Regions from separate parts of the Homo sapiens genome. Here region 2 is linked to region 1. The links are contacts of gene promoters, found by promoter capture Hi-C in blood cells and fetal thymus (Javierre and others, 2016). All regions are on one chromosome and are shown on one strand. The core of a region is centred on a gene start or on the middle of the fragment in contact, and the rest is flanking DNA. Distances in the headings are between cores, read along the strand shown. Region 1 holds the start of NPRL2 (NPR2 like, GATOR1 complex subunit). Region 2 overlaps HEMK1 (HemK methyltransferase 1, mitochondrial release factors N(5)-glutamine).

Region 1 (4,307 bases), core at 1,203-3,702:
GATGGGAAGCTCAAGTGAGGGTGCTGCCCCAGAAGAGGAGAAGAGGGCTTTATGTAACCCTTAGCTGCCAGTGAGTCTGGGCTGATTCCCCTTTTTCTTTCTCTCCCCACTGACAAGACTATCCATTTGGTGGGGCAAGAGTGGAAAACCCCATCTGGGATGATATATGTGCCCTGAATAATCTCCACACTTCCTCCTAGGTGCCAGTCTGAAATGTCATCTGTCGTATGTTACCAAGCAAACACAGGGTTTGAGATGTGGCAGTTATAAATGATTCACAAGCTTTGTTTCCCTAACGTGGGGCTGGATACAATTTCTTGGCAAGAGCTGGCCACATGGGTGCACTGTTTCAGGGAAAGTTAGGTGCATCACCAGAAATTAAAGTAAAAAGGGACAGAGGTACATCCAAATGCAATGTCTCAGCTTTCTGCCTAGAGGTGGGTGAAGCCTCATTGTGCTTAGACAAATCTTACCCATTTGACCTGGGTCCTGGGTCTTCATTACTCTGATTCAAGTCTCTTTTTTTTTTTTTTTTTTTTTTTGGAGATAGTCTCTCTCTGTCACCCAGGCTGGAGTGCAGTGGCCTGATCTCGGCTCACTGCAATCTCCGCCTTCCGGGTTCAAGCAATTCTCCTGCCTCAGGCTCCTGAGTAACTGGGATTACAGGCACCTGCCACCACACCCAGCTAATTTTTGGTTTTTTGGGGGGTTTTTTTGTTTTTGGGTTTTTTTTTTTTTTTGGGACAGAGCCTCGCTCTGTCGCCTAGGTTAGAGGTTAGAGTGCAGTGGCGCAATCTTGGCTCACTGCAACCTCCGTCTCCTGGGTTCATGCGATTCTCCTGCCTCAGCCTCCCGAGTAGCTGGGACTACAGGCGCGTGCCACCATGCCCGGCTAATTTTTTGTATTTTTAGTAGAGACGGGGTTTCACCATGTTGGCCAAGATGGTCTCGATCTCCTGACCTCAGGTGATGTGCCCGCCTCGGCCTCTAAGTGCTGGGATTACAGGCATGAGCCACCGTGCCCAGCCTCAAGTCTGAAATATATACCATGGGCAGGAGTAGTTGGAGCATGCAACTCTTCCAAACAGATATTAAATGTGGACAAAGATTCAGAGGCTGCCAGGGCCACCAACCATGCCCATGCTCCCACCCCTAAGAACTGCCCAGGCCCACTACTTACAGCCAAAGACATAAGCACCGGGTGCCAGGAGAACAGGCCTGGAATGAGAAGAGGAGGCCTCATGGGGCTGAGGCAAGAAGAAACCAGCCATACCAATCCTTAAGGGTTGAGGAATACCAGCAGCCCATCACCCAAGGAGGTGCTGCCAAACTGTGAGCCCCTTCTTGCTCTGCAACAAGCTGACCCCACACCTATCCTCTCTTCCTGGCCTCTTCCTGGATCAGAGGCCATGCTTTGCCACTCCTCTGGCAGTCCTCCCTCCTTCCCTTACACCTCCTGAGAGGCAGCCAAATGGAGCACCCAGAGAAGGAAAGACAAACCAGGAATTCTGTGTGCCCTGGCCATACCTACCTGCTCCACCTCACTCATCGCTCCAGCACAGAATTCCCTCAACCAGCCAGGCCTGTTCCCGGAAGTCCCACTGCCCTTCCTCCCCAGGAACAGTGGCCCTTCCCTTCCCAGAAGTCAGCTATGAATTCTACTTACTGGAGCCAGGCCTGGCAAGCACAGCCACAAAGATGGTAAAGCCCAGGGCCACAAGGTGGGCGGCAGCGCCAGAAGCAGTACGCAGAGCTCGGTAGATGTGTGACTCGGTCTCCGCAGAAAGGGCCATCGTCAGCCGTGCTAGTGGTTGTAGCCTGAAAGCATAGTAGCGTGGGCCAGGATCTCAGGTGCCCACTGTTCACTCCTCACTGGAGAAAAGGCTGCAAGGCAGGAATGCCACCCTCTTCCAATAAGTTATGGTAGGAAAGAACAGTACCAAGACCAGCACCAGGAATGGTCACAACATGCCAGTCGACGGCCGGCGGCCTGTCAACGTGTACCCATGTCTGAACTGGTACCAATCGCTGGCCCGCCTTCCAGGTAGGAGGCGCAAAGCCATGTAAGACTACAAATCCCAGCGTGTACCACGCCGTCGCCGGCAGTAGAGCCAGCTGGGAGGGCGCGGAGCACTATGGAAATTGTAGTTCCCTGCTGCGGTCCCAGTTACAGCGTGAATCCCTTAGCGCACCGCCTCCCCAAGTGCTGCCAGCATGCTGCCCCTCCACGCTAGGGACTTGCCTGCCTCTGCCGCAGCGCAGATCTGATGCGGTGGTTTCCTCCAAAGAAAGCGGGATACTCCGGGCCCTGCCGCGCGCACCGCCGCTCCGTCACGGAGCCGCTTTACTTCCGGGTGCGACGTCTACCCACCCAGGACTTCCTGGGACGAGCCGTCCCCCGCCCCAGCCACGCCTCTGAGTCGCGCTGCGCAGGCGCCATTGGGCAGAGGGATTGGCAAGCTTGCGTGCCCCAGCGACACAGGCCTCGAGGCTGTCTCTGACAAGTGTTCACAGGAGGTGGGGACGCCTCTGCGCGAGGAACGAGGAGCTACGGGCCTGGGCCCGGTTATTGCCATGGGCAGCGGCTGCCGCATCGAATGCATATTCTTCAGCGAGTTCCACCCCACGCTGGGACCCAAGATCACCTATCAGGTGCCACCCGGGCTCGCGGGACTGGGCGGGAAGAGGGACGTTCTCGAGAGCTCAACTGGCTGCCTGAAGGCAGTAGTTTCCCGTGCTGCACGCAGGCATGCTGCTTCATTCGCAGACAACTGTGAGGCTAGAGGATAGTCAGACCCAGGCCCCCGGCTCCCAATGTGGCAGGGAAGACATACGTCACATTGGCAGTGTTTGTAGGATATCGGGCTGTAGGGATCCGGTTGGGGGGTTCCAGGTCCCACAGAAGGTGAGTTGGGTGACCCATGAGTATCCCTGAACTGAGTGAAGAGTAAATGATGCATAGGAAGTTTAGGTAAGGCAGGAGAAAGTGTTCCAGGTAGAGGGAACAGCATATGCAGAAGCCAGGAAGGAGGTGAGATCATAGCGTATGTTTGGAAACAGAAAGAAGTAATAGGCCTGAGTGGATGGGAGAGAGGGGAACGCTGGAGAAGAGGACTTGGGCTTGGGGGGCATGAGGAGGTCACCATTTGTACTACACCCAGTACAGATGTCCACTGAGGGGCCCATTGCCACTCCCCTCCCCAGGTCCCTGAAGACTTCATCTCCCGAGAGCTGTTTGACACAGTCCAAGTGTACATCATCACCAAGCCAGAGCTGCAGAACAAGCTTATCACTGTGTGAGACCCTAGCTCGGGGTGAGCGGTGGGTGGCAGGGGTTGTCCCAGGAGGAGGAAGGGACAGGCTTGGGGGCCTGACTGTGTTCCAATTATCCAGCACAGCTATGGAAAAGAAGCTGATCGGCTGTCCTGTGTGCATCGAACACAAGAAGTACAGCCGCAATGCTCTCCTCTTCAACCTGGGCTTCGTGTGTGATGCCCAGGCCAAGACCTGCGCCCTCGAGCCCATTGTTAAAAAGCTGGCTGGCTATCTGACCACACTAGAGGTCTGCAATGAGATGGGCTTGGGTTTACCGACAGGCAGAGTTGGGGAAGGTGTTCCCATGTCTCCAAAGTCCCCCAAACCTGGGACCCTGCAAACCAGCTCAGGACTCAGGGCAGCCAACCAGCCAGGGGTCCTGGGATGTGCCCACCATGCTTTCCATGCTCTGTCTAGCTAGAGAGCAGCTTCGTGTCCATGGAGGAGAGCAAGCAGAAGTTGGTGCCCATCATGACCATCTTGCTGGAGGAGCTAAATGCCTCAGGCCGGTGCACTCTGCCCATTGGTATGGCCAGCCTCTGCAAGGACAGCAGAGGGGTAGAGGAGAGATGGGAAAGTGAACCCAGCTAGTCAGGGAGAAGGGCAAGACTCATGAACACATTGGTGGGCAGGAAATAGCCATGGGCTGAGGTGCCCATGTCCAGGGTCCAATGCATGATGGAGCTGGGACTGGGGGTAGGGGGAAAGCAGAGCTCTCCAGCTCTGCCCCTTGGGCAATTCCTTCCCCTTTGTGGGCCTCCGTTTCTCACTCCATAAAAAGAGAAAGATTAGCCCTACCCAGAGGCACCTGCTTGCCCCAAGGGATGCTGGGAGGCCTGGATGGTAATTGAGGACCTCTTGGAAGAAGTGGCACTGAGGATATGGATGGGGCCCCCTGCAGATGAGTCCAACACCATCCACTTGAAGGTGATTGAGCAGCGGCCAGACCCTCCGGTGGCCCAGGAGTATGATGTACCTGTCTTTACCAAAGA
Region 2 (4,307 bases), core at 651-3,150, 230 kb before region 1:
CGAAGTGGCCATTGCTCAACTTGAATGGCTGCCTGGGTCGGGCAGAAGGCCAGGTCCTCATGGCTTCCCATCCCTAATGACCGGAATACATGGGCTGCCAGGTCAGATGTGGGCCACATGGGAAGTCCCAGCTCTATTCTAGAAAATGCATGTACCATCAGCTTACTGATAGACATTTACTGAACTTGGGTATGCCAGATCCACAGGGGGCCCCAGAGATGAGGGGGATAAGAAGGTTTCTGAAGGCATGGTACAGAAGGTGCCAGCAGAGGTATGGGCTAGGGGAGGCAGGGAGAGCACAGAGCAGGCATCCTAAAGGAGGCAGCATTTGTGTTGGAGCTTGAAGAAGTGGATTGTTTGCACCGCCTGGGCAAAGGGAAGGTGTGTGTTCAGGGCATCGAGAGTACTGCACAAAGGCTGAAGCCCAGGGCAGTAGAGAAGAGAATCCACTAAGAAGGAGCCAATGAAGAAAAAAAAGAGAAAAGAATCGAAGGTGGATAGGGAAAGACATGCTGTCCCGCAGAGGTTAAAGGGGTTCTCACCTCAAGCCAGCAGTTCTCAAACCTTGTCAGCAGTGGAGCCCTTTGTTCTGATGACAGCCTACTCAGAGCACTGATGGGGCCTTGGGAGGGGCCCCCAGGGCTTTTCCCACAGTTGTCCTCCCCCACCTCTTCAGAACTGGATTCCATAGGACACAAGAGAACACACTTAAGTCATGGGGAGCCAGCTAAGTGTTTGGGGCAAGGATTGGGAGCAGCCAATAGCCCAGGGTCCAGGTGGGGGTAAAGGAGCAAAAAAGAGTATTTTTTGCATTTAGGGGGTTCGGGGCCTATTTCAATAAGGCAGCTGTATGAGACCCATGGAGAAACCCACTGACAACTGGGAAAAGCATCCAACTGTGAGACAAGGCCTCAGTTTCCCCAACTATCAGAAGAGGAGATAGAATTACTCTCCCAGAGTACATCAAACAGGGACTCCTACACTCCTGTCTATGCTCTGGGCTCTGGCTGAAGGAGGCTGCACGGGCAGTGGGCACATCTCTCAAGACCTCAGGGGCTTGCACAGCCTGGACTCCATCAGCTCCATGTCCTCCTCCCATTCTGCCTGCAAGTGCTCCTTGACATATGCTGGTGGTGGTGGGGAGGCTGTTCGAGTCTCTGGCTTTGGCCTCAGGAGCAAGGGAGGGGATAGGGCAGGTGGGCCTGGCTTTCCCTGAGCTAGAGCCACTGGCTGCCCTGGCCTGGGCCTCAAGGCACTGGGGCCATAGTGAGGAGAGGCTGAGGGGAGATGTAGGCTGCCAGGCTACCAGCCTGCTGGCTCCATCTCTAGACAACAGTGAGGAGTCAAGAGCCCAAGACTGAAACTCCTGCCTTCCCTTCTTTCCAGACTGCCTTGTATCCCTGCCTGCCTTATGTTGGTCCCATGCATCAGATGGACGCCTGAGGGCACTGGGTCCTTCCTCCCTGTGTCTGCCCTCCGAGGAAGGCAAGGAAAAATGCCACAATGTGCCAAGCCAGGCACATCCCATGGGCTCCTCACATGCATCCTATAAAATAAAGCATTAAGTCCCATTTCTCAGCCTTAGAAGCCAAGGCTGAGTGAGGTGAAGTCATCTGCCCAAGGTCACATCCTCGTGAGGGGCAGATTCTGGGATTGAAATCCAGGCTGGTGTGGCTCCAACATCTGGGCTCAACGTCCAGGGCCCAATCAAGCCAGTGGCTGCAGGCTTGAGGCCCCGCCTGCCAGTCCTCTTGGCTTGGACCTTTTCCTCAGCAGAGTCAAGCTGCACATTTTTCTGGGCAGAAAGTTGTGCCCGAGGCCGGCTCCTGCTTGTGGCCCCAGCTGCCCCGACAGTGTCACTCTCCAACACTGCACTCTCTTCTGGTGCAACATCCACAAGCTCGCCAAGGCCCTTCCTCAGGAATGGGCCTGAGGCCAGGAGGGAGAGACCATCAGGGAAGCCAGGACTGGCTGAGGTGTAGGGGGGCGACAGACTGCTCCGAGGTCAGGGCAGCTACCCTGAGATGCTGCTGAAGACAGCAAGAGCCAAAGGGCACAAGGAGAAAGACAGAAAGGGCAATACTGGTGAGGACCTTAGCAGGCAAAGGTCTGTGAGCATGGGGGACTAAGGAAGTGGGGAGCCTTGCCCTGGTTGTGCACCCCCTTCGCCCTCCCCACCCAGGTTCCTTCTGGAGCAGCCTCCTTAAAGGAAGCCAGGGGCAGCTCAGAGTCCATGCAGCTGGGGCTGGGCACAGGGCAGGACACTGGGGCACTGGGAGCTGCAGTGTGACCTCTACCAAATGTGTCCTCCAGCCATAGTGCAGGGCAACACTTAGGCTGGGTATGACTCCAGCAATATAGGCTCCCCAAAGGGAGGGATCTAACTTACTGTCTCCACTTGGTCACTGTCATGTGACCTCAGGCAGTACATACCTTCTCTTGCTCTCCATGCCTGGCGAATGGACATTCAGATGCCAGCATGCACATTCCACTTGACTAAGAGTAAAGAGGTTGCCAGTTGGCGTTGGCCCTGGACTCAGAAGAGCCAGCTTCTCATAGGGAAAGGAGTTGCCCAAGGTCCCACTGCAGGACACAGCCCTGGAACTCAGCTCTCCCAGCTGCAGCAGAGGATGCTGCCTATTGGACCATACTGCCCATCAGACCATACTGCCAGGCCCTGGGAAGTGCCAGGGTGGCAGGGGGCAGTCTAGTGGAATGAGACAGCCTGGTTTGCCATGTTTCTTAGGACCCACCCTGATGTAGGCTCACATCACCAGCACTCACCAACCTAGAGATTTCCTGTCGCTGTTGACAGGAAGGCTGGATCTGCAGGCCTCCTGGTGGCCATGAGTCTGCACAGACCAGAGCTGGGGTGGAGGCCACAACCCTGTGCCCAGTATCTCAGCTTCTCACTCTCCCCAGCCCCAACCAGGGACACATGGGTTATTTGAAACCCCAGGGGGTCAACTCGGGAGGGATGTTTTAGCTAAAAGCTATGGGGATAAAAAGGAAACACCCCTCACTGGCTCAAGCCTTCAGTTAAATGAACGTGGATGTGCGACCCAGGAACTGTGCAGCAAAGACCTCCAGACCCTCCCCTCCAGAAAGCAGGCAGTCATCCTTGAGCCAAAACGCAGATGAGCTTCCTGTGCTCGAGCCAGGCTTGGCCAGGGAATTGTGTACGCATGCACCCAGGGCAGTGGAGGACTAATCAATCCCTGGGAGTGAGCTGCTCTATGCCAGGACCCATGGTATCCAAGGCCAGGAGTGAGGACTCACGTGCCTTCCTCCACACTGCACCCCCACACCACTACCAAGCAGGGGACTGACGGCCAGCCCTGCTGGGGCAGAAGGAAACCCTTGCCCCAGTGCTACCTGGGAGTAAGGGGGTCAGGGGACCTGCAAGTCATGGACAAAACATTAGGTCACCATTTGTTAGTCTCTCAATACTTTACTGGCCATATCCCCCGATACCCCCACAGCAATTTCACCAACACAGAGCAACTGCCCTCAGCCACTCTGATGTGATGGAGCCAATCCAGGTGTCCTAGAAATATCCTAGAAATGCAGAGCATGGGGAAATCACAGAACCCTGGGAAATGCCATAAGAACCTGGGCTCTGGAAAGTGCCATCCACCTCCCCTCTGGTCAGGCTGGCGGCACTGACAAGGCATCCACAGGGCAGCCATGCTATGGCCCAGACCTCCGGATATGCAGGAACCGGGGCCTGAGGAGACAGGGACAGGGGCTGGTTACCACCTGGGCCTCAGGGAATGAACAGGAAGTGGGAACAGCACACTCTCCTGACAGCCAGGGCTGAGGATGGCCCCAGTGGAAAGACCAGCATGCTACAGGGCTAAAGGGGGCTAGGATCTTACCTCCCACAGAAGTCCCTGCGCACAGCCACAAGATTAAGGTACAGGTCAGGCCGGCTCTGAAGCCAGCTGCTGACAAGCTCCGGGTGCCTTGGGTCCACTTCTAAGAAGATACTACTACATGGGGGAGAAATGGGTGGGCTCAGCAGGACAGGTCTGGCGCCTGCCCTTCTGGGCTGCTTGGGCTGGCGAGGTGAGGGTCCTGTGCTGACCTCTGCCAGGGCCTGCCCAGTACACATTAGGAGCAGAGGAGCCTGCTGGGGACAGACCTAGGAGACCCATCCCATTCATACCCAGAGTCTTTCAGGAGCCGGGGTGCCAAGGCCAGAATGTGGGTAATGATGTCCATGCCCTCCTCCCCACCATCCAGGGCCGCGGGGTCTTCATAGCTGAAAGGCAAAGCAGTGGGAGGTGACAGCCTGAGAAAGGGGT

Evidence for each region. Contacts are between HindIII fragments. The CHiCAGO score rates a contact against its expected background, and 5 or more counts as called.
Region 2: a contact is called between a fragment that was not itself captured here and the fragment with the promoter of NPRL2 in region 1, in 2 of 17 cell types (erythroblasts and megakaryocytes). The highest score is 5.8, in erythroblasts.

What each region holds. Positions count from the first base shown.
Region 1 is chr3:50,348,920-50,353,226 of GRCh38, reverse strand. It overlaps NPRL2 (NPR2 like, GATOR1 complex subunit), which reads left to right and starts at 2,452. Exons shown (of 11, transcript NM_006545.5): 1 at 2,452-2,652; 2 at 3,205-3,296; 3 at 3,394-3,562; 4 at 3,733-3,841; 5 at 4,217-4,307. The coding sequence starts at 2,575. It overlaps CYB561D2 (cytochrome b561 family member D2), which reads right to left and starts at 2,365. Exons shown (of 4, transcript NM_001291284.2): 1 at 2,243-2,365; 2 at 1,667-1,818; 3 at 1,181-1,218. The coding sequence starts at 1,793. LOC127898564 (CYB561D2-LOC101928965) reads right to left here and starts at 2,365. Exons shown (of 5, transcript NR_183066.1): 1 at 2,243-2,365; 2 at 1,667-1,818. RefSeq lists an enhancer at 2,191-2,410. The HindIII fragment of the contact is 2,178 bases long and covers 285-2,462 here.
Region 2 is chr3:50,579,801-50,584,107 of GRCh38, reverse strand. It overlaps HEMK1 (HemK methyltransferase 1, mitochondrial release factors N(5)-glutamine), which reads right to left. Exons shown (of 11, transcript NM_016173.5): 9 at 4,169-4,264; 10 at 3,879-3,992; 11 at 1-3,727. The coding sequence ends at 3,691. Among named protein-coding and RNA genes, the nearest start is that of HEMK1, 12 kb to the right of the region's middle. RefSeq lists enhancers at 1,315-1,814, 1,815-2,316. The HindIII fragment of the contact is 8,059 bases long and covers 1-4,307 here.